2 separate regions of the Homo sapiens genome follow, and region 2 is linked to region 1. Evidence: promoter capture Hi-C in human tissues and cell types (Jung and others, 2019). All regions are on one chromosome and are shown on one strand. The core of a region is centred on a gene start or on the middle of the fragment in contact, and the rest is flanking DNA. Distances in the headings are between cores, read along the strand shown.

What was found. Contacts are between HindIII fragments. The study calls those that stand out against the background at their distance.
Region 2: a fragment that was not itself captured here is called in contact with the fragment with the promoter of PRR16 in region 1 in 1 of the 25 tissues and cell types used here (IMR-90 fibroblasts).

What each region holds. Positions count from the first base shown.
Region 1 is chr5:120,462,396-120,466,366 of GRCh38, forward strand. PRR16 (proline rich 16) reads left to right here and starts at 1,905. Exons shown (of 2, transcript NM_001300783.2): 1 at 1,905-2,250. The coding sequence starts at 2,092. RefSeq lists a silencer at 1,824-1,873 and an enhancer at 2,279-2,780. The HindIII fragment of the contact is 4,324 bases long and covers 1-3,749 here.
Region 2 is chr5:120,809,463-120,813,433 of GRCh38, forward strand. No RefSeq gene overlaps it. Among named protein-coding and RNA genes, the nearest start is that of PRR16, 350 kb to the left of the region's middle. The HindIII fragment of the contact is 3,650 bases long and covers 132-3,781 here.

The DNA of each region.
Region 1 (3,971 bases), core at 655-3,154:
GTGCCTAGCCTGTTTTGTTTTTTTTTTTTTAATCTTTAGTGAATGAGATTCAGAGTAGCATGGACATCTTCTTATATTGTGGGAGGATTATTTTGTCACTGTGAGGGAAATCACAATTTCCTTTCCTCCTCTCCCATATCCTTGTCTAAAGTCACTTAACTTTGAGTTTGGCGGCTTTCTTACACACTTGCCTACTATTAAGAGTCAAAAATAATTCCAATCTAGAAGAATAGTACTTTCTCTTTTCCCCTACCATTAGCTTTTGCTAGTTTTGACAATTTTGGGGAGTCTGTAAACCTGATATAATTATTTTAATGTTATATTTTTTATAAAATAAAGAATTTGAGGAGAAAAAGGATGTTTTAAAAATCTAATTCTCCCTACCTCAGAGAACTCAAGCATATTACTTATTTCACACTTTTAATCATTTCTTCTCTTTTTCTTTTCTCCAGTTTGCATGCTGCAGACTTGTTCTTATAATCTCTTCTTAAGTCTTTCCAGCAGCATCTGCTTTTCACCTTTTCTCATTTCTTCCCCTGATTTTTCAATGCAGTTTTCAATGGTTTTCTTTTGACACCACTTTCAAATTTCAATTTTTTCTTCTGTTCTCTTTCTTCCTCTATATTCCACATATGACTTCCAAAGGTTTTGTAAAGATGAATTGTCCAGGATTAAGAGAGTGATTGATTAAGAGCCTACAGAACTGGGAAGAGGAGAGCTGCCAAGCTTTTCTTTATGTGTAGCACAGTGGAGCTACCCAGAGTGTGAGAAGCAAGAAACAGAGAGCCTTGCTAAGGCACGACGAAAAGGGGAAGCCTATTAAAAGAATGATCTGGAGGAGTGTGCAGTGAAGAAAATAAAGTAGAGCCAGCCTGCTGGGTCAGTAGCTAATAGCCCATGGGTTTACAACTAAGGAAGTTAAAATTCTAGCTAATGAGAATTGTAGACACCTACTGAGAGTGAACCGAAGGCTTCCTATTAACTTCCCTTCTTGGGTCTTTTTGACAGAACAGTCAGAAAGTTGTTTCCTATTTGTTTAGTAGCAAAAGAGTTGAAATGGAGGTTTAAAAAATGATGAAAGAGAAGTTGGAGGCAATCTCTTACTCAGCTCCTTCACGAGGTCCAAATACGATGTCTCCCCCACTCCACTCAAAATGTAAATCAGCATAGGTCACAAAAAGAGGAAGGACAGTTAAAAAAAAAAAAAAGAGTTGGGCCAAATAAGACATACAGCCAAGATGACTGAGACAATCAGAGAGGATTTGGGGTGTGGGGACTTCAAATTAATAAATCCGGTATTAGCTTTGTGGAATTAGCAGGATTAGGGTACCTCTTTCAAGAACACTGGTTGAATTTCATGGTTTCAATAGATGACCATTAGCTGTTATGTGCACCCCCCCCCCCCTTTTTTCTTGCAGAAGTTAAGAAGTCTGCTTAACTCGCAGGTCACCAAGAGATTGATTAAAGGCCTCTGGACATCATTTGGGTTTGGATAAATCTGTAGGGCCACTTTACAGACTGTCTCCAACTCCTGATCCCACTGTGGTTCTTTCTGAATTGATCCAGGTCCCTGCTAGCAAGTGAAGCAGAAAGAATCCAGGCTAGTTGTGAGATGACATACAGCAAGCAGGCTGAGATGATGGGGACATTTCAGAACCAAGAGGAGGGGGCGGGCAGGACACGGACTTGTCTCCCCCACCTTGATGCCAAGGTGGCATCTGGGAGATATCTCGAAGGGCAACGTCGAGGGGACTGCAAGCGTCAACCCTGGCGCGGCAGCACGGCGCCCCTCTCCGCGGGCGGGGAGCGAGCGCGTGTGCGCGAGAGCGCCGGGCGGCGGCGGGAGGAGGCGCAGGCGCGCTGCTCGCCCGTCTGCAGCCCCGAGCCGAGCGCCGCGTCTCGGGAGTTGATGGCAGCACCACTGTGCGGCCGCCCGGCCGAGCGCGGAGCGCAGCCACTCGCCGCTGCCCAGGGAGCGCCCAAGATGTGGGGGGACCGGGGCGGCAGCGGCCGTAGCAGCGCCAGGGACGGGGGCACGCAGCAGCCTCCGCTCGCCCGCCTGTCCTGACCTGCCTCGCTTGCCCCCAAAGAATGTCAGCCAAGTCCAAGGGGAACCCCTCCTCGTCCTGTCCAGCCGAGGGACCGCCGGCAGCCTCCAAAACCAAGGTGAAGGAACAGATCAAGATCATCGTGGAGGATTTGGAATTAGTCCTGGGCGACCTGAAGGACGTGGCCAAGGAACTTAAGGAGGTGAGAGGCGCAGGGGTGGGGAGGGAGTTCGGCACCCTTCGACCCCTCCGGGGTCCCCTTTCCGATTTTCAGCAGGGACAGCCAGATTTCCAAACTCCTGGGAAACTACAGAAAAGGCGCCTGCAGACGGACTTTCTTTGCTCCTGGAGTCCTGAGAGGAGTTGTTGTTGCACTTTTTAATTTTTTTTTTTAATCAGGAAGAAATCAACTAGTGTTTTAATCGATGGACCTGGGCTGGTGGGAGGGATGAACGCACGCGTGTCTCTGAATCTGTGTGTGTGACGACGGGGGAGAGGGTTAGCTGGGGGTGTGTCGGCAGAGGAAGTCGTGAGCAGCCCGGCTGGAGCGTGCAAGATGCTCCTCTCCTGCCCTATTGCTTCCCCAGAGTCCTTTGGCAAGTCCGCTGCCTATCTGTCAGCCTCCCCAAGTCAGGGCTGAAGAGGGGCCGGGTTCTGGGCCCTGGGCCAGATCAGGGAGGGCAGCCTGGAGGAAGCTTGGCTCAGACTACCCTCCCTGTCTCTCGAGCCTCGCTGTAGGGAAGGCGACCCGGGCTGCTGGCAGCCTTGGGGCTAAGGAGGGGGTCTGGGACTTTCTCACTTTCTCAGTTTCTGAAGCATCCCCTGCTCTCCTCCGAACGTCGTTACCAGTAACTCTGGGCCTTCCCGCCACCCTACCTCTGCTTCCTTCCTTCCACCCTGTCGCCACTTGGCATTGAACCCGAGAAGCAGGACGCGCAGGAGAGTGTATGTGTGGCCGGGGTCTTGCCATTGGCGTCCTGGCTCTCTGCAGCTGGGACTGCTTCGGTTCTTCCCCGCTTTTCCTATCCCACTTCGGTTCAGCCCTACTCCCGCCCGCCCCTAGCCCCAGGTGATCCAGATGGAAAGAAGCAGAGAAGGTGTCAGGGCTGAGGCTGCGTAACTCAGGCGGCGGCTCCGGGCGGGGGCGGGGGCCGGGCTGGGAGGGGTGGGGTCTCCCGAGCCAGGCTGGCTGCCGGCGGCGTCGCGGAGCTGGTAGCAGAGTCCCAGCGCGCCGCTCACTACTGAATGGGGTCCTGGTGCGGTTCTCGGTGAGGGAGTCCGCAGCTCCGCTGCGTGAGAGCTAAGACTAGAACTTCGAAGGTGGCGGTGGCTGCAGCGGGAAAAGGGGTGGGGCGTAGTCTAGGTCCAAAATTGTAATCCTGTTTCTGAAGCCAACGGGGAGGAGACTGAGGGTTGTTTGGATGACTGGCCTCTAGAGATTAACCTCCTGTATTCAATTTCCAAACCAAATTTCAAGAGCCCCCTCGTCTTCCTCCCCTTCCCCCGTTACCTCTATGAACTGAACTCTGCATTTGTTACCTAATGCAAGTCTGTTAAAATGGGCCATTCGTCACCAGGGTTAAGTTTGCCAGTGGTAAATGTCGTTCCTGTAGGTTACTCCACAGACAGAACATAATTAGTACTGAGGTCCTGAGAGTGGCTGTTAGTATACATAGATTCAGGGATAAAACTTGTTCGTGTTTTCAGGGTTTCTGTAGGATTATTGCTTCACAACTGGTTGACAGATGGTGGGGTTATGCATTGAAATTCAATTCTAAAAATGCTGTCCCTTTCTTTGTTATTCTTTTATATGACATCTTTGGTAGACTGTGTTTTCATCTGAAACATGGCGTTTTAAAAAATGAAATTGGGCATGTTCCTTTCGGCAGAATTGTGCTTAATAGTTGGTGAGGTTTCTATGGG
Region 2 (3,971 bases), core at 707-3,206, 350 kb after region 1:
ATATGGTCCTACTGAAAGCCCATGTACAAATGTTATCAAATATCTCAAAATGGCTAAATTCCATCTCCTGCTCCCAGTCCAGGATCCAGCCTAAGATCCCACATTGCACTTATGTGTCATATCTCTTCAGTTTAATCTGAAAATGACTCTCTTTTCTTACTTGATATTAACATTTTTAAAGAGTACAAAATAGTTATTTTGTGGAATGTCTCTTAATTTGGGTTATTCTGATTTGTTTTTGTGATGGATAGACCCGGGTTACGCATTTGTGTCAGATGTATCACAAAATTGATATAGACTTTTTAGTGAATATCAGGAGGCCCATGAGTTTGTTTTATACCTATATTGCTCATATTAACTTTGATTACTTAAGGTGGAGACTACTATTCTTCTCCACTGTAATGTGGCTATTTTTCACTTGCAACTAATCAGTAGTCTGGAGGAGTTTAATATGTAGATATTCAACTATCAGTCAAACGTTTACTGACTAGTTTTAGCATCCATTGATGATTCCCTAATTCAGTGATTCCTTCTTTGTCATTTGACATTTTTCTGTAAGAAATTGTCCTACTTGCTTGTTAATTTATATTAGAATGGAATAATGGATTCTTAATTTACACTATGGGTTATAATGTAATATTATAATTATGTATTTTGGATAATAGTCAAATTCATACAGATTTGGGAATTAGGAACCCCTTCAATTTGACTTTTTATGTATTACTGTAATTCTTCAAAAATATTATTACTTTCTGGCAAATATGTTATAGGCTTATTTTGCATTTTCCTTGCCCAAGATCTGGAATCAGTCTTCTCTAAGAAAGTCTAGCTCCTTTCAAATGAAAAATAGTATTTAGTAACCAAGCTTCTGAGTGCTAAATGTATTCATTGCTACTGGTAATTTATTGCTTCTAGGCAGAGTGAAAATATATATATACACAAGATATTAAGGTATATATACATATACACACTGTATTTATTTCTTTATTTGTATTTGTTTCTTTGTTTTACCTATATATTAAAAGCCATGAGTTAATACTGATGGTTCTCTTTCAAAATCAACAACACAATATACTCTTTGGACATTCCCTTTTCCATATTTGTAATTTATTTCCCCAACAGTGAAAAATATGGCTCCCACTATTCCCAAAATTTATATTCATTTGCTCAACTCTAGAATATAGACAGAATAGTTTCAAAATTGCCAACTTATAATATCAAGAAAAGCAAACCTAGTAACTAAAATTCAATATCTGCTTAAAGTTATTTTTTGGTAAATTTTAGATACATTAAGAATGAACCGATCTAAAATGTGAAATTTAATGAGTTTGATAGATGTTTGTACAACTCTGTCAAGATATAAATTTCCATCACTATGGAAATTCTCATGTGTCCCTAACACTCAATGTCTACTCACTCTGGGGCGACTATTTGTTTCACATTAGTTTTGACTTTTCTATATCTTTACATAAATGGAATCATCAAGTGTATATTCTCATGTCCAACTTCTTTTCCTCAGCTTGTCTATGAGATTCAACTATATTGTCGTATATGTAAGAATTGTATTCCTTTTTGCTGCTGAGCAATATTCTAAAATATAATTATATTACAATCAAATACATTTATTCATTTTTCTCTTGATGAATATTTCAGTTGTTTTTAGTTTTTGCTTCTGAGTATTGCTGTGTGTATTTTGTACAAGGCTTTGTGTGTTTTCATTTCTCTTGCACAAATACCTAGGATTAGAATTTCCGGGTAATGAATAAGGTATATGCTGAATTTTTTAAGCAGTTTTTCAAAATTCTTTTATTGTATACATTCCCATAGTACATTATGAGAGTTCTTGGTGTTTCCCATTCTGGTAAACACTTGGGTTGTTAGTGTTCTGTTTTTGTTTTTTTAAACGCAGCTCAACCATTATAGTGGGTGTGTCATGATATTTTCTCTGGTTTTAATTTAAATTTTCTTAATGACTAATGATGTTAAGCATGTTTCAATACGTTTATTTACTTTTATTTTTATTTCCTTGTGAAATGTCAAGTATTTGTTCATTTTATATTGAATTATTTATGTCAGTTATACTGAGTTGTAGAATTATTTAATGTACTATGGATACAAATTATTTGTTAGATAAATATTTGCTACATTTTCTCCCAGATGATAATTACTTATCCCTCTTAATTTTATTTCATTTTAGATTCAGGGGGTGCATGTACTTGTTTGTAACTTGAGAATTACATGTGTAATGGTGGGGGTTGTGTTTCTAGTGTACCCATCACCCAGTCCTATGCATGTTGCTGCCAAGGACATGATTTGATTCTTTTTATGGTTGCATAGTATTACATGGTGCATATATATATGTATATATACCACATTCTCTTTATTTAATCATGTGTTGATGGACACTTAGGTTGGTTCTAGGACTTTACTATTGTAAATAACACTATTAATAAACATAAGAGTGTAGATATCATTTTAATTTAATGATTTCCTTTCCTTTTGGTAGATATCCAGCAGTGGGATTGCAGGGTGGAATGGTAGTTCTATTTTTAGTTCTTTGAGAAATCTCCATATTGTTTCCTATAGATGCTGAATTAATTTACTTTCCAGCTAACAGTGTATGAGCATTCCTTTTTCTCTGTATCTACATCAATATCTGTGGGGTTTTTTACTTTTTAAATAAAAGCCATTCTGCTGGTGAAATGTGATATCTCAGTGTGGTTTTAATTTGCTTTTCTTTGGTGATTACTGATGTTGAGAGTTTTTTCATCTTTGTTGGTTGCTTGTATTTCTTTTTTTGAGAAATATCTGTTTATGGCCTTTCCCCAATTTCTAATGGAATTGTTTTTTTCTTGTTGTTTGAGTTCCTTACAGATTCTGGATATTAATCCTTTGCCAGAGGTATCATTTGCAAATGTTTTCTCCCATTTTGTAGGCTGTTTATTCTGTTGATTATGTATTTTGCTGTGCAGAAGCATTTTAGTTAAATTAACTTCTGATTGTGTATTTTTGTTTTTATTCCACTTGCTGGTGAAGTCTTCCTCATAAATTGTTTGACTACACCGATATCCAGAGGAGTTTTTCCTAGGTTCTCCTCTTGTAATTTTATAGTTTCTAGTCTTACATATGGATATTTAATCCATCAGTTAGTTTTTGTTTATGGTGAGAGATAGAGGTCCAGTTTCATTCTTTGGCATATGGCTAGCCAGTTTTCCTAGCACAATTTATTGAATAGAGTATCCTTTCTTCATTGTTTATTTAAGTCAAGTTTATTAAAGATGAGTTGGTTATAAGTATGTAGTTTTATTTCTGGGTGCTCTTTCCTCTTCTATTGCTCTATGTGTCTATTTTTGTCAGTAGCATGCTGCTTTAGTTACTATAGCTTTGTACTGTAATTTGAAGAAAGGAAATGAAATATGATGCTTCCAGATTTGTTATTTTCACTTAGGAATGATTTGGCTATTGGAATTGCTTTTGTTTGTTTGTTTGTTTGAGATGGAGTCTGGCTCTGTCACCAAGGCTGGAGTGCAGTGGGGCACAATATTGGCTCTCTGCAACCTCTTGCTTCCCAGGTTCAAGAGATTCTCCTGCCTCAGCCTCCCGAGTAGCTGAGATCACAGGTGCCTGCCACCATGCCTGGCTCATTTTTGCATTATTAGTAGAGATGGGTTTTTACTATGTTGACCAGGCTGGTCTCGAACTCCTGACCTCAGTTGATCCGCATGCCTCAGCCTCCCAAAGTGCTTAGATTACAGGTGTGAGCCATTGAGCCCAGCTTGGTCTTTTTTTGTTGTTGTTGTTGTTTTTTGTTTTTGGTTGAACTTTAGGATTGTTTTTACTAATTCTGTGAAAAATGACATTGGAAATGTGATAGTAATTGTGTCGAATCTGTCAATTGCTTTGGGTAATAAGGTCATTTTAACAATATTCATTTTACCAATTCATGAGAATGGAATGTTTTTCCATTTGCT